Regions from separate parts of the Homo sapiens genome. Here all the other regions are linked to region 1. Evidence: promoter capture Hi-C in 16 types of primary human blood cells and fetal thymus (Javierre and others, 2016). All regions are on one chromosome and are shown on one strand. The core of a region is centred on a gene start or on the middle of the fragment in contact, and the rest is flanking DNA. Distances in the headings are between cores, read along the strand shown.

Region 1 (3,462 bases), core at 953-3,452:
CCCAGCACTGTGGGAGGCTGAGGCAGGCGGATCACTTGAGGACAGGAGTTCAAGACCAGCCTGGCCAACATGGTGAAACCCTGTCTCTACTGAAAATACAAAACAATTAGCCGGGAGGGGTGGCGGGCACCTGTAATCCCAGCTACTCAGGAGGCTGAGGCAGGAGAATTGCTTGAACCCAGGAGGCGGAGGTTGCAGTGAGCCGAGATCATGCCATTGCAATCCACCCTGGGTAACAAGGGTGAAACTCCATCTCAAAAACAAACAAACAAACAAACAAACAAAACACATGAAATTCACCATCACAGGAGTTATTGCTTGGTGGGTATAGAGTTTCAGTTGGGGAAGATGAAAAGTTCTGGAGATGGATGGTGGTGATGGCTGCACAACAATGTAAATGTACTTAATGCCACTGAACAGTACACCTAAAAATGGTTGAAATGGTAAACACTTTATGTTCTATAATATTCATGGCATCCAAAATAACTGAGTCACTGTAGAAATGATAATGTGCCCTTTTCAGTGTGATATCGTTTCAGTATTTTTTAATTCTTTTTTTTTTTTTTTTTTAAAGGGAGTCTCGCTCTGTTGCCCAGGCTGGAGTACAGTGGCACAATCTCAGCTCACTGAAAATGAAAAGCATTTTCATTTTCCACCTCCCAAATAGCTGGGATTATAGGCTTGCAACCAGGCCCAGCTAACTTTTGTATTTTTAGTGGTGACAGGGTTTCAACAGGTTGGCCAGGCTGGTCTCGAACTCCTGACCTCAGTGATCCACCCCCCCCCTCAGCTTCCCAAAGTGCTGAGATTACAGGCATGAGCCACTGCACCTGGCCAACTTTTTCAATTTGTTCTCAAATACTCTGCACATAATAAAAGGAATATAGGAAACAGGGAGGAGGAGGGAAATGGAATCCTAATTAGGCTGTCAATATTGGTAATTTTTCCTAATAGTTTCCTATATGTTTTATTTATGTATTTATTTTTCCATTCTTCCTTTGTGTATTCTTTTCTTTGCACTTTTTTTTCCTGGAGTAATTTAAAGTAAATGCCAGATATCATATCATTTTGCTTATAAATACTTCCTTCAGAAGACATCTCTAATAGATATATATCTGGTTAGGAGGTTGTCAAGGGAAAATAGAAAAGTATTCTATCAGTAAATACATATAGACATACTTATGGGTCTCTCATGTAAGCGTCTTTGTGACATGAGTCAATCATGGATTTTACTGAAATACATTATTTGATGGGTAATTCAACTGTGCTGAATATTAGTACTATACTAATAATTATTATTTATTGGCTTCTTATTATGCTCCAAGTACAAAGCTTGTCATTTTTAACCAGCGTGTCATTTGAATTCCTATAGCAACGTGACATTTTTCACAAACCTAGTGTAAAAAAGCTTATTATTTTTACCCAGCATGTCATTTGAATTCCTATAACAATGTTATCAGGTAGACATTATCCCTAATTTCCAGACATGTCATTTGAATTCCTATAACAATGTTATCAGGTAGACATTATCCCTAATTTCCAGACAAAGACATAGATTCAAAGTATTAAGATTTCCCAAGATTGTAGACTAAAGGAAAGTACTGAAACTAGCTCTTTCTGCATTCAAAGTGCTCTCTGCTGCTACGTTACACTGGCACTGCATGAACTAGTAGCCCCAGATAAATTCTAAAATCACCCAGGACACACCATCGCTGGAAATGGGAGCCATATGTGATTCACCCCAAAATTCTTAGATCCATTGCCAGATAAAACAGTGAAAATCAAAAGAGAATATATCTGATTCGTAAAAGACACCATATAGAAACAGTCTGCTAATGAAATTAGCAAACAAACATTGGAATCAAATATTTTGGCCCATAATTCTGGCACATTTTTTACAAATGTAGTGTGACTTACTCTCTTTGAATTTCAGTTTCTGTCTCTGAAGAGTGGGTACAATATCTCTCCTCTGATGCTCATGAAAAATAGTTTTCCCTTTCATAAATTACTTAGCGAAATATCCTGAAACACCTTCAGAATCACCACTTTCTCCACCTGCAATACACATAACTCAAGAATTTGCGTCAGCGAACTTCCCAATATGAAGCAAAGCCTCTCCTTCCTCCTACCAATGATTGAGTCATTCTTCTATTAGATAACAGTAGCTATTTAAATACTTCTGCAGAAGCTCACATATTTTTAGTTTGTTGAAGTTCGTGACTGCTTCACTCTCTCATTCTTAGCTTGAATTTGGAAATGACTTTTGATGACCTAAAGATCCAGACTGTGAAGGACCAGCCTGATGAGAAGTCAAATGGAAAAAAAGCTAAAGGTACTAGGGATGGGAAAATGTGTACAGGGAAAGAATCCCAGTGTTAGCCCCAAAATGTAAATTCACCGAAGAATGGGATTAGAAAGCTAAACACCCAAGTATGGGAAAATAGAATTAATACCATTTACTTAAAAGAAAAACAAGAAGGCTATAATGATGATGATGATGACAACTTATTTATAACAATTTATACTGAGTATTTACTACAGGTTATTCTATATGTTATTCACTTTCAGAGTATTATTTCTCAGAATCTTCGCAATAACATTTTGAGATTGGTACTATTACTATCTCCCTTTTACAGAGAGCTAACTGGGCATCAGGAGGACTAACAACATCATCCAGTTTCACGGAGCTAATAAGTGGTAGAGCTAGGACTGTACCACAAACTCCCATTTATCCAGAATTCTATACATCGGAGGGCTCGGGAACCAAATTTATCTGGTGTATATAACGATAATTTCTGTAAGAGTCCTTCAGGCACTACAAAAACCTGAAGTACCTCATGAATTATGCAGGCAAAGTAAATGATATTCAGTATAGTTTAGCATAAGTTACATTTTGTTGTGTACTACTGCTTTGAAAAATTGTAAGTTCTGTTTGACCCATACAGTAATTAAATTGCATAGCTATAAATTAATTCATAATCCCAATTCCACAGACAATCTGGGTAAATTGCCTTTTATTCTATATCTGTTCTGAGGAAAATGAACAGAATATAAGGAGAGAAAGAGAGACAAGTATTGTCAGAAATTTGGATAAAGAAATTCCAAATTACATTTCCAAAAACAAAACAGAAATTTCTCTCAATAGAGAACATAAGTGTGAGCATGGAGTGATTTAACATTTGAGCCAATGAACTAAATTGCTATAAAAACTGCTGATATTTATAGGTAAAACCAGAAGTGAACAATAGTCATTCGTTTCTTTACTCATTCATTATTTGTGTAGTAAATATTGAGGGTCTGAATTTTACAATAATCATGAGATTGATTTTTCTTTCAGAATCTTGGTTAGATCGGTACCTACTGCAAAGAATCGGATTGGTTTATGATTGGAAAATCACTAGTAGGGGCAGCAGTTGGATTAATGGTCTCTGCCTACCAAGGACACAGGACAAAGAGAATCTA
Region 2 (3,473 bases), core at 569-3,068, 480 kb before region 1:
TTAACTCTTAGCAACTTTTATTTTTGGTGCAAAACCTGGTAAGTAAGTGATTTTAATTAGGTACTAGGTGTGAAGCCTAGGACACCAGAGAGAAGTACAAGATAAGGTCTGATTCTTTCCAGCATTGCCAGGGGGCATGTCTAATTCTACATATCCCCAGGACTTATCTAGAATCTAATGGCTCTAAAGCAGGTATACCAAACAATTTTCAAAAGTCAAATAAGCAGTTTATGACCTTAAAGTATTTAGCAAATCTAATTATCTGATCTGCCTAATTTAGACCAAATGTCTAAATTTGGAAGACATTTTTATTTTACCAATAATCTTTAAAACTGTCTTTATTTCCCAAAGCTTCCTAAAGTCACATGAACTAAAAAGCATTACAGTTTTTATTTTTCTGACAAAATATTTAAGTGCTTATTATTTTTAAACCAATTAATCAGAGCTCTTTCATATATAAATGTTACACATACAACACATATGACTACACAACAGACAGAAGATCCAGTAGTTGTAAGATTTTTCATTTGCCAATTTTTAAGTTTCTTAATTGAATTACTGGCTTCAGGGAGGAGCCCTTTGAGGAACAGGGCCAGGAAAGCATGCAATTTCTAGAGCCTAATAGGCAGGCACAGCTGGAAGGCAAAACAGATTTCAAAAATTTAAGGGTCCCATTTTTATACCAGATCTTGGATCCCAAAAAAGAGGAAATCAGCCCACCTCCTATGGAACTCTTATCTCTCAGTGTGGCAATGGGGACACTTCCAGTATCTTCCAGGTGGTCAAGAGTATGCTTCTCTGATCCAAACATGCAAAGAGTTAAGTATCCCCCATAACTTCCATTAGCCATCCCTAAAAGTATGTTTCCTACCTAGTTATTACAAACCAAAGCTCTCTCATAATAAGAAGTAATTTCTGATACCCACAAAAGTCAAAACTGTCAGATAACACAATACAAAATGAAACAAAGCATTAGATTTTGAGAGGGATTTATTTATCCCCTTTCAATTCTAGTGGTTTCATAAGGAAAACAGAGGCTTTTTTCCAAAACAGGATCTGTGGCAACTCCTCTGTTTTTCCCAAGGAGTCTCAAGCTGTTAGAAATTATCTTAGATCCCCTCATGTGTATCAAGAGTGGCAAGAAGATAAAACGGAGAAAAACAATTGTATTAATCCCTTGTTTTTTTGTTTTTTGTTTTTTGTTTTTTTTGAGATGGAGTCTCACTCTATCGCCCAGGCTGGAGTGCAGTGACGTGATCTCGGCTCACTGCAAGCTCCGCCTCCCAGGTTCATGCCATTCTCCTGCCTCAGCCTCCCAAGTAGCTGGGACTACAGGTGCCCACCACCATGCCCAGCTAATTTTTTGTATTTTAGTGGAGACAGGGTTTCACCATATTAGCCAGGATGGTCTCTATCTCCTGACCTCGTGATCCACCTGCCTCAGCCTCCCAAAGTGCTGGGATTACAGGTGTGAGCCACCGCACTCAGCCCTGTATTCATCCATTTTCATGCTGCTGATAAAGACATACCTGAGACTGGACAATTTACAAAAGAAAAGCTTTAATGGACTTACAATTCCACGTGGCTGGGGAGGCCTCACAATCATTGTGGGAGGCAAAAAGGAGGAGAAAGCCATGTCTTTTGCCTGTGGGCGACAGGCAAAGAGAGAGAGCTTGTGCAGGGAAACTCCCACTTTTAAAACTATCAGGTCTCACGAGACTTATTCAGTATCACAAGAACAGCATGGTGAAGATCTGCCCCCATAATTCAGTTATTTCCCACTGTGTCCCTTCCACAACACATGGGAATTATGGGAGCTACAAGATGAGATTTGGGTGGGGACATAGCCAAACCCTATCAACAATTTAGTCAACTGAGAAGAAAAAAACTTTTTCCTCAGAGAAATAAGATCCAAGAAGAGAAAAAACATAAAAACCTTTTAAATATACGTATAGCTCATATATCTTCTTTTAATTAAAGCTGACTTTTAACCATAGCACTTCAAAAATGCTTTTAAATCTCTTATTACCTGACTTCAGCCAGGCCACACAATCCATTTTTCTGGCTTTTAAGCTTTACCAAAGGTAACCTCCCAGATGAAACCAGTAAGCTTTCACTAAGGTTATGACTTAATCACAAGTGTACCAGTATTTTAAAAGAGATGATTAGCAGTTTTTACAAGATTTAGAGTCTACAAGGTGCCTCAGAGAAAGGAAGATTCAAGAAGGGAAGATAGAAGTTGTTCATGGGGGGAGGGGATAAAATCAACAAATGGCAAAGATCACACCAATATCAACCTGAAAGTACTCATTCCCTAAACCAGAAATTGAACGCTGAACCAGGGATGCCATTGTGAAAAGGCAAAGCCTTAGCTACTAAGCTACAGCATTGGGAAGTTTCCATTGCCTTCTCAGAAAGAGCCTGGAGCAGACAATTTTGAGCCAATGAAGGCTTTTAACTGCTCAAAACAATTTTTAGAGCTAACTTTGTCATAAACTCCAAAATTGCTGTCCTCTGGATGGCAGAAACTAAGAGAAAGTACTGCCACATGGTTACAAGGTCAAGCTCCCAAGGATATAAAACAAGATGAGAGAGAAACCCTATCTAGCTTATGGAGTCCCAAGCCTGTGTTCTATCCCAAGGTACCTCCCCTTTATGACAGAATAACACAGAAAGACAAATTCAAAGCACAAAATACACCAGATTCACTACAGCATTAAGACTAGCCTCATGAATCCTTTTATTCATTAATTAAAACGTTGCAAGAGAGTGATTTCTACCATTCCTACAACTGGTTTGTACAGAGAGGGAGGAAAGGGAAGGGATAAAAGTGTTGCCTACAGTGGGGTGGGGAAGGCAAGGAGCTCAGAGAGACTAGGTAGTGAAGGATCTTTTCTAGCAGTCCAGTCAGCTCTCAAGTTTCCCACTTTGGGGAGAAAAAAGCTCCCCGTGTCTGGTGATCCTGTACATGCCTATTCCTGTCATCCATATCTGTCAGCAAAGAGTGCAAGGCAGATTAATCCAAAGAGAATAGCAGTTAACATCCCATAGTGTCAAATCCACTTTTAACCAAGAAGGACTTTACTGAGAGGGGCCTCTAATCCCTAAATCTTAGGAAGGACTCTAACCTTTCTAAATTGGGCCTCAAACTCAAGTTTCATTAAGCATCCTTGCCTTTTATTAGGAGGGGCCTTAACCCTCTCTGTCTTAGGAGAGACTCTCCTAAGTTGGACCTCTAACCCAATCTGATCCTTTACCTGGGCAAAACATACCCCGCCCCTTACCTAAAGTCTGCCAATTGGCAGTGCTGTGGTCTATTTCCTTTGGGTCCATAGGATTCTCCTCAGTATAGTCCCTTCATGGTTTCCAGGAAGATGTTATTGGAAAGGGGTCCCAATCCAGACCCCAAGAGAGGGTTCTTGGATATTGCTAAAGAAATAATTCAGGGTGACTCCATAGAGTAAAGTGAAAGC
Region 3 (3,269 bases), core at 92-2,591, 360 kb after region 1:
CCGAAAGCTGCATTTCCCTAATTCTAGGGTTATTTTTCCCTCTGAAAATAAAGTCTTCTCCTTTCCTTCCTTTGTGGATCTCATGGTCTTTTGATAATGAAGATAATAAAAGATCCAATTCCGCCTAATATCTTAAGTCCAACTTTTATCTAATTTAACACTTTTCCTCTCTCTCAGCTTGGATTGGATCTGCTTAGTTTGGGACCATTAAGGGGGCAAGTGAGTATAACGGGCTCTGCATGAGCTTCTTCCCTCTCTAGTATCTCTTTCCATTCCCCAACCCTGATCCCCAGAATGAGTGAAGGTGAAACAAAGGGAATAGAAATAAACACGGAATAAAGATGTTACCAGCCTGGACAGTTTTAATCTGTATGCTGACACTCCAAATGTTTTCTCTCTTTTTTTTTTTTTTTTTGGACTACTTCTATGGGTTTTTCAGAAATTCTGCTCCTGGGGTACTCTGCAGTTGTCTGATGTGTGATGTCTCCTTTGGCAATCCTGCTTGCAAATCACTGTACCTCACCCCTCACAACTCCCCAGGTACCTTTTTTTTTTTTGCTTTCTACTCTATACTTCCAGCTTCTTTTCATTGAGGCTGACTTGCCTGTGGTAAGAAGCAGTCTTAGGTGAATTTTATTTTAGGATGGTTCCCAAATGGCTGCTTTGTATGAGATCTTCATCCGGCCCACAGGAAACACTCCCTTCAGCCTCACCATTGCTGGAAGTGTGGCTTAATCTACACATCTGCTTTTACTCTGTGGTTATGTGTAGTTCTAACAAACTCACATACTGAAAGTGTTCACCTCTGCAACCTCCAACTCCCAGAGGACACTTGCCAATATATGACAGAATCCAAACTTGGCTTAAGGTAAAAGAGAAGTTCTTTTGCTTATTGACACAGAAAGATATTGGGAAATGGGAAGTACACTGGCAAGTCACTTCATAAAAAAAATTCTCACTTCCTAATCTCTGAACACTCATAAACTCTTAATGTGCTCTGAAAGTAGATGATAGATCGAAATTTGAAATAAACACTTTTGCAAGCTTGTTAGCATGTCCTATATAGGAGGTCTAGCACCTATAGAATTGTTCTTGACATTTGTGCCCTCAGATAAAAGTAAACAGCAGGAATGACCACATTTTAATATCCTACTAGTCATTCAATATTTATGAATTATTTTCTGAGGACTTATTACATGTCAGACACTGTTTGGGGAGTCTATTTTAGACTTCAAACATCTTTTAAAAACAAACATTTCATTAAACTATAGGTGAAAATTTAAGCATATAGTCATTAAGTTTGTGAATCAGACCTATCTTGGAGAGGAATTTAATTTGTTTAAATTTATCAAAGGACACACAAAAGATAAGCCCTAGTTATTCTAACCACTTATTAACACAGCTACCTGCGATTTCTGGGAGCTTAACTTCCGTTCAGGCTCAGAAACTCTAATTTTGGGAATATACTTGGACCACATTGTTAATTTGGGAGGATTCAGATAAAGTATGAGAAATGCATTCACATTTGACTATGAGAACATCAAGTTATATTGTATAATACCAAAAATAATGGTCCCTTGAATATATCCAGGATGACCTACAAACAGAATTGTTCCTAGATAAAAACCCTCAAGCTTGTAGAAAATCTATGTTGACACTCACTATTCAGATGTTGTCATTCACAACTCTGAGTTTCAGTGATTTAATGATGAAATTTAGGACTGAGAAGCTTGTTTCTTGCAGATTTATCAACCTTGCTAATTGATCTTTATGTCATTCTCCTTTTGTATACTTCAGGTAAATAAATAAATATTTGATTTATTCATGGGGTGATTTTGTTTGATACATTAATCCATAGGCACAGTCAATATTTTCAAAACAGTAGTTTTACATCAAATAAAGCAGCATTAAAAAAAACAGATTTATCAATAGAATAACAACTTTTGAAAGTGGAACTTATTTTTTTAAATCAATTTTCTTAACCTAAGTTTAAATCTAAGTAACCCGCTTTTTCCAACAATAATAACAATTTATCTTTGAATACTACACAAAATCTCATGACATAATCAAAATTAACTGGGGTATATGGATGCTTCTTTCAAGAATTGGTATCAATTCTGCCTTCTGGAGCCAGTAAACTAAGCGTAACATCAATATGACAGCTGTTGGAACAATTTACGTTAACAAACTTATTCCCAGCAGCCCTTTTCCTGATTCTGGCTAAGTAGCTTTAGTTCCTGGAAATAATACTTAAGTTACGGTTTCAACTAATTCAAATCCCTGTTTTTTCTCATCTGTACTCTTAAAAGTAGGCATTTACATATGTGCATGTATGCAGAGGAAAACTAAGAGAAAGTTAAGATGGTTTGAAACAATCACATAAAAATTATTTCAAAGAATTGGGCCAGGAATGGAGGAAAAAAGTCCCACCCTTTCTTTTTAGATATATTTGTATTGATTTTACCTAAAATTCATTACTTCACACAATCTTATTTTGAGCTTGTTGGTCATTGAATTTCCCCTAGTGCTCTTGCATACATCTACAAATAAAGGCAATTCTTCCCATCTTGTTAACTTCTTCAGTTTAGATTTTAATACACTTAAAAAATTCATCTCGCTAAACTCTCAATTTTCTCCGAAATGCAGAATGTTTGGAGTTTATGATTCTATTACTCAGTGTATTAGATATCCAAGTTGTATGTCATCTATACATTGAATATATTAACCTAAGCATTTATAAAATGTGGAGTAAGAGAGAATGAAATGCAAAACATTCTGGCATATAGAAAATGATCTCTCTCCTAACTAATGGCACCTAACCTGAGGTAGCACTGCTTTCATGTAGATATTATAGCATTCTGTGGCATACATCTCAGTGAAAATCATATACATGATACATTCATTGTTTTCCAAAACCATTAATGTGATAAGTCTTTTAACACCAAGAATACGAGGTCATTCTAGCATGACTTGCCTGCTTACTCATATTACACATATGGATATTTACTAAGACTTAGCTAACTATATTTTTAATATTGCACTCTGCCAACTCTTGCCTAAAGCTCTTTGATTCAAACGTCTACCAAACCAAGGCTGCATGATTGCAGCATTCTGTGGTACATGGAGAAACTACTGTTAGCATTCACTCCTGCTTTTGGGGAGGATGCGGGTCTTTTTTGAGCCTACTGTTTTCTTACCATCCTGTCATTGATCTTTAAGCTAGTTAACTTTAAGTGAATATATTTTCTAACATATTAGGATATATAGAT
Region 4 (3,750 bases), core at 834-3,333, 470 kb after region 1:
TGACTCTGATTTGGCAATTACCTAAAGAAAATACAAGATATGTCTTGTAAACTAAATGATTCATCATTGAAAATAAATGTTAACACATTGTTTAACATCACTAGTTTTCTAGCTCCTTCTTTCAACATAAAATAAGCTTTAATGTAACTTATAAATGTATTCAATTAAAGAGTAACATTAAGGTGGAAAATATCATACATATGTTCACCTTGCTACTAAAACACAATACATAGAATATGTTGAGGTCTCCACTGTAGAATACGCAAGTCAATAAAATCAGCAAATAAAATTGACAAAAGGTGACTATTTCTCATTAAAAAAAGAAAATCATTTACACTTTGTCTTAAAGTTTTAAAGCAGGATATTCCAGTTTTAAGACAAAGAAATGACAAATATGTATACATATATATATATATGCGGGCAAGTGTTCTTTTGACATTAAAAGACCTAGGACAGGCTGAGCTCAGTGGCTCACAACTATAATCCAAGCACTTTGAAAGACCAAGGCAGGTAGATTGTTTGACCCCAAAATTTTGAGACCAGCCTTGGCAACACGGTGTAACTCTGTCTCTACAAAAAATTCAAAAATTAGTCAGGTATAATGGCACATGCCTGTGGTCCCAGCTGCTTGGGAGGCTGATGTGAGAGGATCGCCAGAGTTTGGGAAGCTGAGGCTGCAGTGAGCTATGATCATGCCACTGCACTCCAGCCTGAGCAACAGAGTGAGACCTTGTCTCAATAAATAAATAAATAAATAAATAAATAAATAAATAACCTAGCACAAATTATTTTAAGAGTGTGTGTGTATGTGTGTATATATAAATATTTTTTACAAATATCCTCCAGTAGTATGAAGTTGATTAGTACAATGGAGGAACAACATTTAACAGCTGTCTTATGCCTTAAGGGACATAAATCTTGATTGTCCATTCATAGATATTGTATTTAAAGGAACAATAACTTTACTCTATTCAATTTAGTAGCAACTTCTCCAGAATGGATTGCAGTCAGAAACTGTCAGATCTCTTTTGGGTGAGAACTTTGGAACGTTAAAAATTCTGTCTCTTAAAAATGAATGATGGTCAGGTAGTTGGATGCAGTAATTAGGATTTCTGTTTATTATAAGTAGAGATAATTTTTCTGGGTTGTCTACTAGTTTAGTTATAGAACAAGTCTTCTCTTCCTCTGTGTTGATTGGAACCTTGGCAGATACACCTTCACTGATTTTACTGAAATTTACTGTTCCACTAAAGTAAGGGTAAAAAGAGAAGGAACAGAATAGAAAACTTTCAGTCTTCAGATTTAATGCTACCAACTCATTAGCAGACCCAGTTTTCAGAGTTACTAGAGGAGTAGAGATGTCTACAGATTTCTGACTAATGTCATCATTAGTTTTCTTTTTAAATTATGCTGTGGAGGAAAGTTAGTTATTTTACATAAGAGAGAAAGGGTTTGCTCTGAGAGAAGCAGCATATAACTTTCCACCTCTATATTTTAATGTACCTTTTGAGTAGGGTTAGGAGCAGTGTTGGTGATATGGGTGGGAAGCAGGGAAATACTGGGCAGAAGAGGGCTGTCCCAAGCAAGAGCCACACATCCTCAAGCCTGGGATCACAGACCAAAATGAGAACATGCATTTCCTGCTTTCCCACTCACATGTTGCTTTTTGGCCCACCCCACACCCCATCCTCTACCCATAAAAACCACAGGCCCCATCACCAGAGTGGCAGAGCAGCAGAGCAGCGGAATAGCAGAGTGACAGAGAAAGAAAGAAAAGAAGAAGCAGCCGGATGTCAGAGAGAAGCAGTTTGAGCTCAGAGGGACAGCTTGATGGTGGGACCTCGGAGAAGAGTTTGTCTGAACTCCAGGGGAATACCACCTTCCCATTCCATCCACTTTCCAGCTCCCTATCCCGCTGAGAGCCACTTCCATCCCTCAATAAAATCCTCCACATTCACTACCCTTCAATTTGTTTGCATGACCTGATTCTTCCTGGACGCTAAACAAGAACTGAGGTACCAAGAAGGCAGGTCCAAAAGGCTGTCACCCTGACCCTCCACTGAGCTGTTAAATACTTGTCATCTGTGGATAGAAAAGCTAAAAGAGCACACTGTAACACTCACCCTCTGGGGCTTGAGGGGTCATGGGAACTCCCCTAGATGTTGCCATGGGGCAGCACAGAGTTCTACTCCTGCTGGCACACAGAAGCCCTCATCCTGATCCCTACACCCACTCACCTGTGAGTTTCCCCTCCCATGAGGGGTTGAGAGCTGTGGGCTGAGTAAACAAGCCAACCCCTTTGCAACTCCTGCAAAGAGGCCAGGGAAGTACCCCATTTCATCAACACTCTTGGCAGGTGCCAATGTCCTCTCATCTTTTCTGCTTTTGCAAGAAAAAAAAGAAATTGATTTTTTATGTAGATTTGAAAACTTCTAGGTTTTAACTCCAAAATATTGTTTATATCTCCAAATTTAGCACAAATGGAGTTGTACCAGTCTCTCTCATTCTGGAGTAGGTTTTAGAAGATTAGTCAATGCACCTTCAGCCATGCTCAGTGCACTGTGTGCCTGATGCTTCATTCCTAGGTGAGACTTTGGCCTAGGTGAGTAGTCATTCCAGCTCTCAGTACATACTTTCTTTTCATTGTATTTGAAGGTTTAGGATTGAATTTGTAGTCATCTATAAAATGGATGATTCTTTATACAAGAAGTAGTTGCAATTTTATCAATCCCTTCCAAAGGAGTAAAGAGAGCATCATTACACTGTGCCTTTTGCCTTTTTTTTTTTCCTTTTCTATGTTTGGGTTGATTTAATTTTGGGTTCAATATTGATGAAACAATTAGAGTAATTTCCTTGGAACACCTTCATGATCAGTTTTACATACCTGATAATTTGATCATCTGCCAACTTCCATGACAACATCATTACTTTTGGAAACATCTCTTACATTGATCTCTGTTCTCCTAACCCCATTGTTCATATTATTTCCTGTGTTAATTGGATACTTATTTCATTTCATAATTCTCTTTATTTGAACCCAACAACTTCGAGATTCTTACACAATTGACTACCATCTCTTCGTTGTTTATATGATGTACCATAACATGTGGTTCTCCATCTGTCTTTATAGTTTCTTGTTTTACTCCTTGGAGTTTTGTGAGAAATCTCTAGCACCACTGTCATGGACTTAGGATCTTTTTTTGGAGGGGGCCATATTTATCCTATCTCTTGGCATTGCACTCAGTTCATTTTTATCTATATCTCTTCAATTCTGGATTAAGTGTCTATTCCAAATTGTAGTGATGCTATAGCTTCATTAGACATTTTTGGGCAATCAGAGATAGAGGTTTCACTTGTCAGTATGAGGCAGAGCACTGTTCATAATTTCAGCAACACTTTGGGAATTCACTACGTAAGAAGGTCCTACCCCTTGGATGTAGGCAAGTTCATGTTGCACGCTTTGGGAATGTAGGTTCAAAGGCAATAGATCTTTTGTCTTCTTAGGTGAATCTGATGGCAAGAGTTTGAAATATGCAGTTTGGGCATTATACCGAACCTCATAAAAGTCAGATAAGGCTTTCTTGTTAGATGTGTTGCAGGAGCACTTGCAGTTTGCTCCTGCTTTTTGTCATTTGGAAAAAACAACCTAATTTTAAAACTGTCAAGTGAAGTGTGATGGCTAATTTTATATGTCAACTTGATTGAGATAAGGTATACTCAGCAGGGAAAGCATTATCTCTGGATGTGTCT
Region 5 (3,551 bases), core at 112-2,611, 420 kb after region 1:
CTCTTTTTAGAGAAATTTGCCAATTTACTTTGTTATTTTTCCCCAAAAAGAATGGGATGATCATGTATTTATTTTTTTACTTCCTCAGCTGTAGACAGGTCCTTTTCGATGGTACATATTTCTTTGCCTTTATAATCTTTTATACAGTGTCTTACAGAGAAAAGACATAAGCAAAGACTATGAGGAATATTTGCAAGACATAGAATAGTGTTGGAAAATGTGCAATATGTGATGTGGCAAATCTCTATTAGGAAATATTCTGTAATCTTCAGACCTAGAATAATACTAGTCTTATAATAGGTTTGTGACTTTCCTAAATCAATTCTATTACGTGCAATACTTCAATACTTCATTTAAAATATTTTTATGTGCAATAAAATGTATTTGTTTGTATTTTGTGTTCAGTACAATTATAAGCTGTTTTTATATATGTGAAATAAAAGTAGAATAAACACAATGGTTTCCAAGAAAGTTCATTCCTTCAAAATACATTAAAAAGTATATACTATATGAGAAAGCAGAAAACAGTTACTATAACTTAGGAAAAAATCCCATGTAGAGTAAAACCCTTAGTTTTATAATAGCTTATACATATCAAATTGTTTTCATATGCTTATATGCTAAAGGGTGTATGTATCCATATCCATTTTTCTGTATATAGCAGATGCTCTGTAATAATTACTCCTCATAGTCAATGCTCTGAAAGTATCTTGTTCAATTCTGAGGTGCTACATACACTTTAGTTATTTATGTAAAATAATTCAATATATAGAAAAGAGGCATAATCTTCATGGGATATTTCAATCAGCAAAAAACTCAATGATGTAGTTTGGATGTGTGTCCCTGCCCAAATCTCATGTCGCATTGTAATCCCCTTTGTTGGAGGTGGGGCCTGGTGGGAGGTGATTACATCATGGGAGCGAATCTCTCATGAATGGTTTAGCATCATCCTCTTGATGGTCTCCTTGCACCTGAGTGAGTTCTCAGGAGATCTGGTCTTTTCAAAGTGTGCAGCACTTTCTCTCTCTCTCTCTCTCTTTCTCTCTCTCTTTCCTGCTTTCTCCATGTGACATGCCTGCTCCCACTCCACTTCACCTTCCAACATACATAAAAGCTCCCTAAGCTTCCGCGGAAGCTGAGCAGTGTCAGCATTATGCTTGTAAAAACTGCAGAACCGTAAGCCAATTAAGCCTTTTTTCTTTATAAATTACCCAGTCTCAGATATTTTTATAGCAATGCAAGAATAGCCTAATACATTTGATTACCTTCAAAATTGTTTTATAAATGTAATTTGCAATATTCTTCTCTGCTTGTTGGAAATGTATGATGTGTATGGTATCTCTAAACTATTGGCAAACGGCAAACAGAAATGTGGATTTCAGACACTGCTTAGTGAAAAATAATGACCTCTGTGCTCCTGAGTTCCCACAGCTGTGGGAAAAAAGAAACAAGCAGCCTCCTAGCGGTAATATTCTATCATTACCAACAATCTACTCCCGAGTCATCTTAGAAAACAATGTCTTGCGATTAATATTTTAGTTATAACATATTTTTATGTGCATAAATCTAATCAAATTATGAAAATTGAGAGCAAGCTTAAAAATATTTCTATATTAGTATGACACAATTTTTAAGTCATTGAATACTGACTGTATCACCTAACAATTCAATGAATTTTATCATTTTTACAAATAATTTTATTGAATCCCTATAATTATGTGAAATGAGCAGCTGATGTATTTCCCTTTCCAGAGGAAGAAGTTGAAATTATGTTGAAAAAGCGACGCAAAACACGGATAACAGAGTTATTTTTTACACATAATTTGAAGTCATTTTATTCATAAGGACAACTGTTTTCTTTAAATAGATAAAAAATATACAATTCTTAAAGGGAATAATGTTATTATTTAAAGTATGACTCTACTTGCAAGTGACCAATGACAAATATAAAAAATGGGTTTGTCTCAAGAACCCCTCCTGCCCCCGGCTAAGTCCCCTGTTACAAAAGTTGCAGTGCCATCTAGTGGTTATACGAGATTACTGCACTTCTGTTTTAAGGATCCTACAAAACATCTATGTGGAGCGTGGAGCTGCTGAGACCCAAAGCACGGGGGCCAGACCGCCCGAGTTTCATCTCTGCCACGCGCGGGCTGACTAGCTATTTTATCAGAACTCGTTCAAAATTCAGCTAAAATTAGTTAGATGTTAAATTAGTTAGTACATGAAAACAAACTTAAAACATTATCTGGCTCCCTAGTACACCATAGGCATGTATTAAATACTCATGATGATTATTAGAACTAGAAACACTATGTCTTCAAACTTCCAGTATTGGCATAAAGCCGCGTTTCTACACGACATGTCTATTTCTACGTAATATATCTTATTTGTATTTGTTTTTGGAAAGCCTTTTAAAAATTTCATTTCACAAGTTATAAGTAAGCACCTACTACTATGGTGGACACCAGAGTTAAAATACTCAGCAAATTCCGCATGGCAACTGGCCTTGTGGAATTCGTGGTCTATTTGTAAAACAAACAACAAGATGAATTGACATGGTGTGATGAATGTTATAATAGGAAAAACGTAGGGTGCTATGGAAGCATATTAAAGATATACTCCTGTATTCAAACCTTTAGCTAATTATCAAAATTTTAACTCTGTAGGCTACATTCATCTTGGATAGTTACATAAATATGTGTAAAATAAAACTATCAGTTATCCGTGTTTTGCGTTGCTTTTTCAACATAATTTCAATTTCTTCCTCTGGAAAGGGGAATACATCAGCTGCACATTTCACATAATTGTAGGGATTGGATAAAACTTTTTAAAAAGGCTAAAATGCCATTGAACTGTTAGGTGCTATAGTCAGTATTCAACTACTTAAAAATTGTATGATACTAATATAGAAATGATATTTTTAAGCTTGCTGTCAATTTTCATAATTTGATTAGATTTTGCACATGAAAATGTATTATAACTGAAATTAAAATGTAAATGATTTTTCAGGGAAAAATATTGGGAAATATATGACCAGAACGACTGCTGGTGATGGTGTAAACTGGTTTCCTTTACCCTTTGGAAAGCAGCTTGACAATACTTACTGGGGAGGGAGGGAGATTTTAAAGAAATAATCTTGGATGTGCAAGACATAACCACAAAAATGTTTATCAAAGGGATATTTCTAGTAGTGAAAAATCAGAAGCTACCTAATTGTCCAAAACCAAAGATTTAGTTAAATAAATATAATGCTCCTACATGATGAAATGCTATCCCAACATTAAAAAATAATGAAGAACATTTATGTATATGAAAGAATACTCAAACTATTATTGCTGCTAGTTTAAAATAATATATACAATAGGATTATTTCCTGTTCAATATTAAATATACAAAACATGTTTTATATTTCTATATGCTGACAGAAAGTAAAACTACTAAAGTAAACACAGTGGTTTTCCCTGAGGAGGAGGAATATAGGAAGTATTTATTTTCTTTATGTTTTTCTATAATTTTGGATCTCTTTCTTTCTTTCCTTTCTTTTTCTTTTC
Region 6 (3,409 bases), core at 50-2,549, 380 kb after region 1:
AAGGCAGATATTGAATTGTGATGCAGTAACACAAAGGCTTCAGCTAACAGTATAGGGAGCTCTGGAGGTGAGTGCCCTTTCAAGTTTATCTTGATATAAGGCAACAAGTCCAAGCTTTTATACTCCCACACGAACCAGCCGTTTGATACATCTGGCACTGGGAGAAAGTGTGACTTTGAGAAGGCACTTCTGTTTAGCTGAGAGCCATACAAGGAAGATTCAGTTGAAAGCTTCTGACTCCCAGGTGCTGAGACAATGAGGCTTCAGTCCAAAGTGGAGACACACCATTGCACCCATTGTAAATGGAAAACCAGTTTTTAAATCAAAAGATAAGGAAGACATATATATATATATACACACACACACACACATATATATACATATATACACACATATATGCAGATAGATAGATAGATAGATGGATAGATAGATAGATAGATAGATAGATAGATAGATAGATAGATAAATTTTCCTGATCAGACTCCTTTGCTTAGGGCTAGCAGCATATATCCAAAAGTCCATTAAAATATCCAACTCAATCTCCCACATATTCCAGAAACAAAAGTGATCATTTTGATTCTTTTCTAAATCTAATTTTACCCCCTAATTTCTGACTCATTTGAAAGAATACTGCCCACAGTTTTAGGAATCAAAGCATGAAGGCCATCCTTGACTCTCTGTCTGCATTTTTTTCTGATTAAATGACCCTACCTAATAAATCATAGACTGTAATGACTAGTAATGTCTTTAATTCAACAACTTTCCATCATCTCTACTTCCACTGCATTGGTCTTAAAGGCAGTCATCTCTCTATGGTATCCCTTTATTCCAGTTCATCTTGCACCTGTTAGACTGAGTAACTTCCAAAAATTGCACCTGTTAACTTCCAAAAATTAATATCTAATTGCAATTTGTCCCAAATTTATAAGAATTTATTACTTTCTTTCTGCACTTAGAATAATTCCAGACTATTTAACAGCATTGATTTCACCCTGTAATCTGGCTTTGTCTCTTGTTCCATTCTTCAGTCTCACTGTAGTGGACCATTCTTTCTCCCATCTCTAAGACTTGTACATTTTACCCTTGTCTACAAAGTTGTTGTTGTTGTTGTTTTTCCTCTGCCTTATTCACCTGGAAAACTGTCTCATCTTTCACTTCTCAGATTAAATATTTACATAATTTTATAGAATGCCACCTTGAGAATAAATTCTCCAAGATGTGTTCTACATGCCCTCATAATTACCTGCTTAATTGTCTTGCCAGACATGAGCAGAAACAGTGGAATAAAGACCTACAAAAAGCTATTCCTTCATAAAATCAACAAGAACATTGACAAAAACTGTCAAAACAAACTTCCTCAGAATACTGTGAATTAACCAAAGACTTGCAAAAATCTGGCAAGCATTTACTCAAGAAAATAGGTGAATTTAATTGAAAACAGTGACCTTTGTGGAGATTTAACTTGCTCTATTCCTATTCCGTATTCCTCAGCTTCACAGTAGCCTTGAAAAACTATAGTAGGTCTTACAACTATAGTAGCAGTAGTGAACTGTAGCCCAACAGGTCTCAGAGGGGCCATAAAGGGTTTAGAAGTCCCAAAAATTATTCTTAGAGTACTGTCATTATTCAAACTATCAAACATGATCTTGGAAATTCCCACCTACGACTTTAGTTGATCTCAAACAGAGCTCGCTCAGTGCAAATGACTTTTTCCCTAGGGGTATTTGACAAAAACAATCAGCACCTATTGCTGTACATTGCAGCTGCTTAATATGGAATAACAGCTGGGGCAAAGGAAAAGCTGACCAAAAAACTTAAGAGGGAAACTTAAGGGATGGGCTGCCTATAGTAGTTCATTGAAATGATACAAAATATTGATACAGCTTCAATGAATGGAGGAACACCAGAGTCCTTTGTCTCACGCCAATTTAGATAAGACAACATGGACACACATGGAGTGGTTTTAAGGAACAGAGAGTTTAATAGGCAAGAAAGAAAGAAGAAGCTCCCAGCTACAGAGACGGGGGGTCGGTGAGGGGTGGGGGTGGCTCCAAGCAGAGAGAGGAAACCCCAAGTATGGTGGAAACAATCTGTTATATTAGAAGGCTGGAGGAGGTGGTGTCTGATTTTTATAGGCCCAGGGGATTGGTTTGACTTAGTATGTCATTCACATAGCCTGCAAAAAAACTGGCTCTCCCACCCTAGTCTTTTAATATGCAAATGCAGGCCGCCATGATTTTCTGCACAGTGGAGACCTCTGGGGGTGCCATGATGCTTGGCACATGTGGTGACAAGGAGAAGAAGGTGGGACTTGCCATATTGGATGGACCCAGCTTCTAATAGCCAGCATTTGCATATCAAAGCTTGCTGGCTTGGCCCTTCAAGCCATTTTTTTGCTAAAAAAGAAATGTTTCTGGAGCTGCTTTTATTTAAAGAAAAAAACCTTACCAAGGACCACTTATCCTATCTGCCTGAAATAATTTCTTAATAATTTCTATAATAATATGATCATCAATATCATGAAAATGACCACACTGCCCAAAGCAATCTACTGATTCAATGCAATTCCCATGAAAATATCAACATCATTTTTCACAGAACTACAGAAAACAATTCTAAAATTCATATGGAACCAAAAAAAGAGCCTGAATAGCCAAAGCAATCCTAAGTAAAAAGAACAAATCTGGAGGCATCACATTACCTGACTTCAAATTATACTACAAGGCTATCATAAACAAAACAGCATGGTACTGGTATAAAATTAAATACGTAAGCCAATGGAACAGGATAGATAGATAACCCAGAAATTAAGCCAAATACTTATAACCAACTGATCTTTGACAAAATGTACGTAGATTGGGGAAATAATTCAATAAATGGTGCTGGAAAAACTGGACAGCCACATGTAGAAGAAAGAAACTGTATCCCTATGCCTCACTATATACAAAAATCAACTCAAGATGGATTAAAGACTTAAATCTGAGGCTTGATACCATAAAAATTCTAGAAGAAAACCTAAAGAAAAACTCTTCTGAACATTGGGTTAGGCAAAGAGCTTATGATTAATACTCCAAAAGAAAAGGTAACAAAACAAAAATAAATAAATGGGACCTAATTAAATGAAAAAGCTTCTGCACACCAAAAGACATAATCAGAGTAAACAGATAACCCACAGAATTGGAGAAAATATTTGCAAACTAAGCATCTAACAAAAGACTAATATCCAGAGTTTATAAAGAACTCAAACAAATCAGCAAGAAAACAAATAATTCCATCAAAAAGTGAGCAAATTGTATAAATAGACACTTCTCAAAAGAAGATATACAAATGGCCAACAAACATGAAAAATGCTCAATATCACTAATAATCAGGGAAATGCAAATTACAATCACAATGAGATACAATCTAA
Region 7 (3,803 bases), core at 394-2,893, 340 kb after region 1:
TTTTCAATATATGAGAAAAGATTTACAAATATGTCATCACAAAATTAAGTTAAATGAATGAACATCATAACCCCAAGGCTCACATTGTCAATCTAATTCACATAAAATACGTCTTACCTCAAGCTTTAATAAATATTAGCTAAAGGTACAAGACATAAATATTAGTATGTGTCACTTAAATATCTGGGAGCCGAAAATCTGCACATTTTTGCTTCAGAGAGACATTTATGAACAGAGTGTGGAAAAAAGTCTGCAGAGAAGTCACTACATGTTGTAGTCTTTCAGGTTTAATATCTCTAATTTCCAAAAATGAAATAAAAATTGAGTGTAGGAAGTAAAGACTTGAAAATATGGGAATCTAAAAATTCACATGGAAGAGGCAATAAATTTCTTATACATAGCACGTATGTAACTCTAAGATGAATCACTGATGGATGATACTTGTGGAAGGACTCAAGAGATAAGTAAAATTTTCATGGGTGAAGTTATTAAAAGAGAAATATTTAGAAAGCAACAGAACAGAACAGACAGTCTCTATAACTGTGATTATTTGTGTCTTTAATTTCTGCTTATCTCTTTTGCCAAATCACATTAAGGTGGCATGATGGAATTGCATTGTGTATGGAGGGTATGCTTGAAGTAGCAAATTAAAATGTTGATTGCTGGTGTATAAACTTTATTTTGAGTCAACTTGGTGAAAAGCATAAAGTTTTTGAGAAGTTGAATTAAAAATTAGTATTAAAGGCTGGGCGCGGTGGCTCATGCCTATAATCCCAACACTTTGGAAGACTCAGGTGGGTGGATCACCTGAGGTCAGGAGTTCAAGACCAGCCTGGCCAACATGGTAAAACCCCATCTCTACTAAAAACGCAAAAAATTAGCCAGGCATGGTGGCGGGCACCTATAATCTCAGCTACTCAGGAGGCTGAGGCAGGAGAATTGCTTGAACCTGGGAGGCAGAGGTTGCAGTGAGCCGAGATCATGCCATTGCACTCCAGCCTGGGCAACAACAGTGAAACTCCGTCTCAAAAAAAAAAAATAGCATTAAAACACCATATTCTATGAATGATAAGGAGGTGAATGGCAGCAAATATTCACTAATTTGAAATTATTAATTTTAATTGAGTATGCATATTTCCTCAGAGAATGTCCTTAAGAAATTATATCAGACAAAATATTACAAGTAAGTGTTAGTTCCACATTGATAAATGGGAGAGAGAGAGATTATCTCATAGTAAATTTGTAAGATTAAATGAAGGAACATAGATAAAACATTCTGTATAGTGCCGGAAACTGGTGTTTCTTAAATGGTAAGAGAGGTTGTTATTTTTAAATCATTATTAATATTGAAAGAGAGGACAGGTGAGAGAGATACAGAGACGGAGAAAGAAAAGCACCCAAATACTGAAACAGTCCAATAACACAATGGAACAGGATACGGGAAACTACCATGTTAATTCACACCAATTGAAAAAATGAAATTAAATTCCATACCTTTAAATGTAAGTTGAGATGTTTGGGCAGAACTCCTTTTCTTTGACTGTACATTCAATGTCATGTATCTTTCTTCATCTTGCATCTTCAATGTGAGTGAATGTGTGTGTATACAGGTATGTTTTGTTTTATTAAGTATAACATGAAATGAGGAAAGAATAATAAATCTGCTGCTAATCAGAGATGCTCCTCAAATTGTCCTTTCACAGTACATATGAGGGTTCACAGTTTCACTTATTTGTGAAAACCTCAGAGGAAATGTTTTCTTTTTAAAAGTTGCTTTCCCATGACATAGATAACACATAATTTCTCAACTGTCCACCACATATTGAATTGAATATTCTTTTGAGTGCTTTACAAATTTCTCTTAATTTACCCTTAAAGTCAAGGGAATGGAAATTATGCCCCTTTTTGAGGTGAGGTTAATAATATATAGCTGCCTTTTGTTATAGCCTAAATATTTATATCATTTGAATTAGCCTCCCTAACATATTGATATTTAATTTAATAATTTGCAATTGCCAAGCAATTAAATTCTTTATCCTAAAACAATATTGTTTATAAATCATGCTAATAATTTAACAGTATAATTTGATTTTTTTTAACTTTTAGGTTCAGGGCTACATGTGTAGGTTTGTTATATAGGTAAAATCATGTCACAGGGGTTTGTTGTACATATTATTTCATCACCCAGGTATTCAGACTAGTACTACATAGTTATGTTTTTCTGATCCTGCCCCTCCTCTCACCCTCCACCTTCAAGTAGGCTCCGGTGTCTGTCATTCTCCTCTATGTGTACATGTGTTCTCATCATTTAGATCCCAATTATTAGTGAGAACATGTGGTATTTGGTTTTCTGTTCCTCCATTAGTTTGTTAAGGGTAACGGCCTCTAGCTTCATCTATGTTCCTGCAATGGACATCATCTCATTCTTTTTTATAGCTGCATAGTATTCCTTTGTATATGTGTATCACATTTTCTTTATCCAGTCTACCATTGATGGGCATTTAGGTTGATTGCATGTCTTTGCTATTGTCAACAGTGCTGCCATGAACAGATGCATGCATGTGTCTTTATGATAGATTTATATTCCTTTGGGTATATACCAGTAATGGGATTGCTGGGTCAAATTTCTGGTTTTAGGTCTTTAAGGAATCACCATGCTATCTTTCATAATGGTTGAACTAATTTACACTCCCATCAAAGGTGTATAAGTGAACCCTTTTCTCCACTACCTCATCAGCATCTGTTATTTTTTGACTTTTTAATAATAGCCATTCGACTGGTATGAGATGGTATCTTACTGTGGTTTTAATTTGCATTTCCCTAATGATTAGTGCCTACTGGAGGATAGAGGGTGGGAAGAGGGAAAGGATCAGGAAAAATAACTAATGGGTACTAGGGTTAATACCTGGGTGAAGAAATAATCTTTACAGCAAACCCCCATTACACAAGTTTACCTATGTAACAAATTTGCACATGTACTCCCAAATTTAAAATAAAATTTTAAAAACACAATATACCCTTTTAAATAAGATAAACTATTAATTCAAGGAGAAAATATTTGACAAATTATCAGAAATATATTTGTTGCTTAATGACAAAAGTAAAAGGATAATACATTTTTGTGTTATTTTTGTTTATTTTTACTTGCTAAATTTTGTTCTTTAATTTATAATTACAATTTCTTTGGCCATTATTTGACACTCCAAATGGATAAGAAGTAAATTAAGATTGATAAATAAAACACGAAAAGTATCTGTTCATGTCCTTAGTCCACTTTTTAATGGGGTTGTTTATTTTTTGCTTGTTGATTGGTTTAAGTTTCTTACAGATGCTGGATATTAGACCTTTGTCAAATGCATAGTCTGCAAAAATTTTCTCCCATTCTGTAGATTATCTGTTCACTCTGTTGATAGTTTCTCTTGCTGTGCAGAAGCTCTTACAGTTAATTATTTTGTTTGTTTGTTTTGTTTTGTTTCACTTTTGTTGCAATTGCTTTTGGCATCTTTGTCATGAAATATTTGCCCATTCCTGTGTCCAGGATGGTAATTCCTAGGTTATCTTCCAGGGTTTTTTATATTTTGGGGTTTTAGACATAAGTATTTTATCCATCTTGAGTTGAGCTTTGTATATGGTATAAGGAAGGGGTCCACTTTCAATCTTCAGCATGTGGCTAGCCAGTTATCTCAGCACCATTTATTAAAAAGGGAATCCTTTTCCCATGGCTTGTTTTTGTCAGCTTTGCTGAAGATCAGATGGGTGTAGTTGTGCAGCACTATTTCTGGGCTTTCTGTCCAGTGGTCTAT

What was found. The method cuts DNA at HindIII sites, captures the fragments that hold promoters and counts their contacts. A CHiCAGO score of 5 or more calls a contact.
Region 2: a contact is called between a fragment that was not itself captured here and the fragment with the promoter of OLR1 in region 1, in 1 of 17 cell types (naive CD8 T cells). The highest score is 5.0, in naive CD8 T cells.
Region 3: a contact is called between a fragment that was not itself captured here and the fragment with the promoter of OLR1 in region 1, in 1 of 17 cell types (naive B cells). The highest score is 5.5, in naive B cells.
Region 4: a fragment that was not itself captured here is called in contact with the fragment with the promoter of OLR1 in region 1 in 1 of 17 cell types (neutrophils); the score reaches 5.7 in neutrophils.
Region 5: a fragment that was not itself captured here is called in contact with the fragment with the promoter of OLR1 in region 1 in 3 of 17 cell types (monocytes, neutrophils and M1 macrophages); the score reaches 7.9 in monocytes.
Region 6: a contact is called between a fragment that was not itself captured here and the fragment with the promoter of OLR1 in region 1, in 2 of 17 cell types (monocytes and neutrophils). The highest score is 5.5, in monocytes.
Region 7: a contact is called between the fragment with the promoter of KLRF1 here and the fragment with the promoter of OLR1 in region 1, in 2 of 17 cell types (activated CD4 T cells and neutrophils). The highest score is 7.4, in activated CD4 T cells.

The regions. Positions count from the first base shown.
Region 1 is chr12:10,170,872-10,174,333 of GRCh38, reverse strand. OLR1 (oxidized low density lipoprotein receptor 1) reads left to right here and starts at 2,202. Exons shown (of 6, transcript NM_002543.4): 1 at 2,202-2,332. The coding sequence starts at 2,257. It also overlaps a transcript of TMEM52B not described here. The HindIII fragment of the contact is 3,279 bases long and covers 1,411-3,462 here.
Region 2 is chr12:10,654,362-10,657,834 of GRCh38, reverse strand. All of the region lies in intron 1 of STYK1 (serine/threonine/tyrosine kinase 1), which reads left to right. Among named protein-coding and RNA genes, the nearest start is that of STYK1, 18 kb to the left of the region's middle. The HindIII fragment of the contact is 515 bases long and covers 1,561-2,075 here.
Region 3 is chr12:9,808,466-9,811,734 of GRCh38, reverse strand. It overlaps a transcript of KLRF1 not described here. Among named protein-coding and RNA genes, the nearest start is that of KLRF1, 17 kb to the left of the region's middle. The HindIII fragment of the contact is 590 bases long and covers 1,047-1,636 here.
Region 4 is chr12:9,700,400-9,704,149 of GRCh38, reverse strand. It overlaps LINC02390 (long intergenic non-protein coding RNA 2390), which reads right to left and starts at 766. Exons shown (of 2, transcript XR_931347.3): 1 at 1-766. It also overlaps a transcript of CLECL1 not described here. RefSeq lists an enhancer at 1,929-1,978. The HindIII fragment of the contact is 3,890 bases long and covers 139-3,750 here.
Region 5 is chr12:9,749,392-9,752,942 of GRCh38, reverse strand. It overlaps CD69 (CD69 molecule), which reads left to right. Exons shown (of 5, transcript NM_001781.2): 5 at 1-457. Among named protein-coding and RNA genes, the nearest start is that of CD69, 9.7 kb to the left of the region's middle. RefSeq lists a silencer at 1,396-1,475 and an enhancer at 1,936-2,230. The HindIII fragment of the contact is 472 bases long and covers 1,126-1,597 here.
Region 6 is chr12:9,789,386-9,792,794 of GRCh38, reverse strand. No RefSeq gene overlaps it. Among named protein-coding and RNA genes, the nearest start is that of CD69, 30 kb to the right of the region's middle. The HindIII fragment of the contact is 2,133 bases long and covers 233-2,365 here.
Region 7 is chr12:9,825,321-9,829,123 of GRCh38, reverse strand. It overlaps KLRF1 (killer cell lectin like receptor F1), which reads right to left and starts at 1,643. Exons shown (of 6, transcript NM_016523.3): 1 at 1,495-1,643. The coding sequence starts at 1,579. The HindIII fragment of the contact is 7,114 bases long and covers 126-3,803 here.